2 separate regions of the Homo sapiens genome follow, and region 1 is linked to region 2. Evidence: promoter capture Hi-C in human tissues and cell types (Jung and others, 2019). All regions are on one chromosome and are shown on one strand. Each heading gives the region's core, a stretch centred on a gene start or on the middle of the fragment in contact. The rest is flanking DNA. Distances are from core to core; before and after follow the strand shown.

What was found. Contacts are between HindIII fragments. The study calls those that stand out against the background at their distance.
Region 1: a contact is called between a fragment that was not itself captured here and the fragment with the promoter of XAF1 in region 2, in 2 of the 25 tissues and cell types used here (H1 embryonic stem cells and liver).

Annotation. Positions count from the first base shown.
Region 1 is chr17:6,914,825-6,917,524 of GRCh38, reverse strand. No RefSeq gene overlaps it. Among named protein-coding and RNA genes, the nearest start is that of ALOX12, 80 kb to the left of the region's middle. RefSeq lists an enhancer at 2,661-2,700. The HindIII fragment of the contact is 5,172 bases long and covers 1-2,700 here.
Region 2 is chr17:6,754,675-6,757,374 of GRCh38, reverse strand. XAF1 (XIAP associated factor 1) reads right to left here and starts at 1,329. Exons shown (of 7, transcript NM_017523.5): 1 at 1,265-1,329. The coding sequence starts at 1,296. RefSeq lists an enhancer at 1,153-1,672. The HindIII fragment of the contact is 6,790 bases long and covers 1-2,700 here.

The sequences.
Region 1 (2,700 bases), core at 150-2,649, 160 kb before region 2:
CACTGCACCCAATTTGTGTTCTTTAATCCTTCACCCTCTTCCCGCCCTTTCCCCCTGAGTCCCCAAATTCTATTGTGTCATTCTTATGCCTTTGCATCCTCATAGCTTAGCTCCCACTTATGAGTGAGAATATAGGATATTTGGTTTTCCATTCCTGAGTTACTTCACTTAGAATAATAGTCTCCAGTTGCATCCAGGTTGCTGCCATTAACTCGTTGCTTTTTATGGCTGAGTAGTATTCCATCGTATGTATGTGTATATGCATATCACAGTTTCTTTATCCACTTGTTGATTGATGGGCATTTTGGTTGGTTCCACAGTTTCGCAATTGCGAATTGTGCTGCTATAAACATGTGTGTGCAAGTACCTTTTTTGTATAATGACTTCTTTTCCTCTGGGTAGATGCCCAGTAGTGGGATTGCTGGATCGAATGGTAGTTCTACTTTTAGTTCTCTGTGAATCTCCACACTGTTTTCCATAGTGGTTGTACTAGTTTACATTCCCACCAGCAGTGTAGAAGTGTTCCCTGTTCACTACATCCGTGCCAACGTCTATTATGTTTTGATTTTTTTGATGATGGCCATTCTTGCAGGAGTAAGGTGGTATCACATTGTGGTTTTGATTTGTGTTTTCCTGATTAGTGATGTTGAGCATTTTTCATATGTTGGTCATTTTGTATATCTTGAGAATTGTTGTCTATTCATGTCCTTAGCCCACTTTTTGATGGGATTGTTGTTTTCTTGCTAATTCGTTTGAGTTTGTTGTAGATTCTGGATATTAGTGCTTTGTCAGATGAATCTTCTGGCCTCCATTGTTTTTGATGAGAACCCTGCAGTCATTCAAATTATTATTTCTCTATGGGAAATACATTGCTTTTCTCTGCTTGCTTTCAAGATTTTTTTCTTTGGCTTTAGTTTTCACTAGTTTGATTGTGATTATCTGGATGAGGATTTGTTTGTTTTATCCTGTTGGTGATTTGTTGAGATTTTCGAAGCTGTAAGTTATATCTTTTATGAAATTTGAAAAATTGGAAGTCGTTATTTATTTTTTTTGTGCACCACACACTCTTATCTTTCTTTGACTCTGATGACATGAATGTTAGACCTTTTGGTTTTGTCCTTCATGTCCTTGAGACTCTATTTACTTAAACAATTTTTTCTTGATGTCATTCAAATTGCATAGTTTCTATTGAGCTATCTTCAAATTCACTGACTGTTTCCTTTGCTGTCTCCATTCTGCTGCAAGCTCACTCAGTGAGCTAAAACTTTTTTTAAAAATTTATTTTATTATTAATTTATTAATGGGGTACAGGTGGTTTTTGGTGACATGGATGAATTATATAGCGGTGAAGTCTGAGATTTTGGTGCACCCGTCACCTGAATGGTGTACATTGTACCTAATGCATAGATTTTGTTCCCTTGGTCCTCTTCCCACCCTCCTGAATCTCCTTCTGAATCTCTAAAGTCCGTTATATCACTCTGTATGCCTTTGCGTATTCCTAGCTTAGCTCTCACTTATAAGTGAGAACATACAGTGTTTGGTTTTCCATTCCATTATCTCCTAGGGGGTTGGAATGGTAGAGGTTTCTTAAAGCTTATCTCCTTCTCCCATCTCATGCACTTTTTATTTATTTATTTTCCCCCAGTATTTTATTTACTGGTTTGATGGTTCAGGTTTCAGGCCAGTAGAAGAGGTGTCCCTGAGTAGGAATCGGTTGTGGGTAAAGCAAGTGGGTAAATGAAGACCCAGGCTTGACAGAGGTGGCTGGAGGAGCCCTCGGTGAGTCACAGTGAGGTCTTATCAGGGAGAAGGGTTGGAGCCACCTTAGCTCCCCTGCAAGGTCAGCAGGGACGTTTTCCACTTCTTAGATATGCTCCTGTCCCAGCGCTCTGGCTATTCAGATCAGACAGGCACCTCTTTTCATCTGTAGGTGTTGGTGTTCCAAATAGAGAGGAATTGTGACTGTTTCTTGTGCAAGCCTGATCCTGGAGGGTGCTCCTCTTGTGGGGATGCAGTCGCCTTGATGTGTTCCAGAATGGCCGTCTATAGTTGCATCCATGTCGAGCTCCTGTGGGAGAAGTCCCAACTGTGCATATGGTGGTGAACAAGGGGGGAAAGACTGCCTCTTCTCCAAGATCCTTCCCATGCACCAAAGCTGTCTGACTGTTGCGATAGAGCTGAAGGCTTTCCCCGCTGAGCCTAGCACTTCAGCTGCGCCTCTGCTCAAGGAAGCTTTCCACCAGCGGAAGGATCTGATGCTCAAGGCCTGCCATCCCGATTCTTTGGTCCCACAGGGTCTTCCCTTGATGGGGCGCACTCCCCCTTTCCCTATGAGTGGGAGTCCCTGTGAGCCACGCTACTGTGAATGTTGTTGCTCCTCTGGGTCTAGCTGCCCAGTGACGTTGCCACCCTCCAGGCTGGTGTTGGGAAATGCCAGTTGTGAATGCCAGTTTCCCAGAAGTGGGTAGCAACACCAGCTCTACTGGGGGTAGCAGGGGAGTGACGTAGACTCTGAAATTCCTTGGTTATTGGTAGCCATAGTATGTTGGCTTTCTTGAATGCTAGTTATAGTAGTAATGAGCTGGTCATGTGGACTCAGGACCTCCTGGTTAGCCGGAGTGATGCAGGCAGTGGTAATAGCTGAGATCATAGAGCCTCCTTCTTCCTGGGTGCAATGTTATTCTACCAGGAGATGCTGTA
Region 2 (2,700 bases), core at 80-2,579:
TTCTGAGCCTCCCACTTCCTGGGCAGGGCATTTTTCTCTAACCGTCCTTTTTGCCAAGAAGTGCCCCCTTTTGGCTGGGTGTGGTGGCTCATGCCTGTAATCCCAGCACTTTGGGAGGCCGAGGCGGGTGGATCACCTGAGGTCAGGAGTTAGAGATCAGCCTGGCCAACATGGTGAAACCTCATCTCTACTAAAACAATACAAAATTAGCCGGGCATGGCGGTGCACGCCTGTAATCCCAACTACTCGGGAGGCTGAGGCAGGAGAATCACTTGAACCCGAGAGATGAAGGTTGCAGTGAGCTGAAATCGCGCCATTGCACTCCAGGCACTCCAGCCTGGGCAAAAAGAAGCGAAACTCCATCTTAAAAAAAAAAAAAAAAGAAGAAGAAAGAAAGAAATGACTCCTTTCATTTCCATCAGCTCTTGCTTGTGGCAGCTTGGGAGAAGGGAAATGGGGTGGCTGTAGCCGTAAAGGCCCAGGGGACGAGAAGAGTTACATGCCCATGTTCCTGGCACAGGGGACGTGCTCCGAGAGGGACTGTCAAAGCCTCACTCCTCTTCTGCCCAGGCAGCGGGCACACAGGCAGCATCATCTTCCCTTCCTCTGCTCTCTCTCCTCTGCCTGACCTGGCCCCTTCTCCCCCTGCTCTTCCTGGGCTGGTTGAGAAACCAGAGTACTTGAAGGGTCTGGCTGGAGCAAAGCTCTCTGGGGAGGGTCCACTCAGGTCCCTGTCACAGGTAGGGAGCTTTGAGAATGGGGCTTTTTGATCGGTCAGATTCCGCGCCCCCCCTCCCGTTAGAGGTGTGGTCCCAGCCCCCTGCTCTGTCCCCCCTGCCCCGCCCCACGGCTCCCTTTCCAAGGAGGGTGAGAGTAGTCCTGGAGAATCTCCGTGGGACACTTTCTTTCACAGATGGGTGTGAAGGTCATAGTATCAGAACCCCAAATTAGGACCCAAGGTCTCACAAGTATGAGTAGCCCAGTTGGGACCACTGGCCGGGCTATTTGGCTTCAGAACTGTCCCAGAAAGCCTAACATTTGGGGGAAAGGGGCTGCAGTGAAGTGGAGGTAATGCTGCCCACCCCCACCCAGAGATTACCAAGTTTAAACCCTCCTACCCTTGGGGCCCACGGTCTCCAGCTGCTTGTCCTCCTAAGTGTTCTTATGCAGGAACCACTTTCTGCTCCCTTCAGAAACAGCCCTATGTCGTCTACGTCTCTCCCTCGCCAGCCCGGGTCTGCCGCTGGAGAAAGCACTTTCTTACCAGTTCCTGCACACCGAGAAGTCTCCTTCCATGTTCTGCTCTCTGCAGGCTTTCGGTTGAGTTTCGTTTCTTGCAGGCAAGGAAACAAAACTGAAAGTTTTCCGATGGCCCAGCCCACAGCTTCAGGGAGGGAGGAGATCTTCAGAATTCTCGGCTCAGGAGTTCCCCTTGATTCCTGAGGCTGGACCCTCCCAAGAAGCCCCTTTACAGCATGGCCAGCCCCTGCTGTCGCCCTTGGCCGTCATTCTTTGCTGCTGTCACAGCCGCATCTACCTCCCTGAGGCTGGCAGCCTGAGGCCAGGCCTCTCCTGGGCAGCACAGCAGCTTGTTCCCTCACCCTGGCTGGCTGGCTTCTCTCCGTCTGGGTCTCCATCCCTTTTCCAAACCATCCACCTCCCACCCTTCTCCCCCATCTCCGGCTCCCTTCTGGTCCTCCCCTGCAGGAAAGAGGGAACTTGCCATGTTGAGCTTGAATGCTGTTCCCTAAAAATGGCTCCTGGACTTCCAGGCGGTGAGGACCTTGCAAACAGCGTCCAGGGAGGCTCTGGGGATGCAGGGTGGTGTGAGCCCAGACCCAATCTGGTGTGTATCCTCCTGGGGGTCCTTAGAGTTTTTCCAGACCCTAGAAACAGCTGTGCTAACAGAAGAACTCTAAACAACATCTGGAGTGATGACAAGCAGGCCCAGAGAATTCCCGTGGCGTCTGCCAATGGGGTGGGTGCCGCCTCTCTGAGGAGGATAACAAGATTAAGGGAAATGTCCAGGCAGGGCTCCAGCCTCCAGGCAGGCTCTAAAATTCAGGCACTAAATGAGAAGCAGTGTGTGGTGGTACTGATGATCACAGTGATAGGAGGGAAGAATGAAAGACTGTTTCAACATTGTTCCTATGTTCCAGGCACCATTCTAAGCATTAGGTAGGCATTGTCTTCGTTTTAATCCCTCATGTAAGCATTATTAACTCCATTTTGCTATGGAAAACAGAGGCAGTGACAGAGTGAGACTCTGCCTCAAAAAAGAAAAATGAAATGAAAAAAGAGAAAATGGAGGCAGAGAGAGGCTAGGCCAATCGCTCAACATCAGAGCTGGGATTCACACCAGGTTGATATGACTCAGGTGTCTATGTACCTAACCAAGGCCCCATCCACCTCATTTGACAGCTAGTTGGGGTAGTGAGCACTTGGCTGAGAGTCAGAGACTGAGGTTTGCATCTTATCTTGTTCCCTTCCTCATCGGCTAGGCAAGCTCCTTAATCCTTCTGACCCTCACTACCCACTCCTGTCTGTCTCTGGGCAGTCTGTCAATATCAAGAATGAAAAACGAGTGGGCTTGGCTTGGTGGCTCATGCCTGTAATCCCAGCACTTTGGGAGGCCGAGGTGGGCGGATCACGAGGTCAGGAGTTCGAGACCAGCCCGACGAACATGGTGAAACCCCGTCT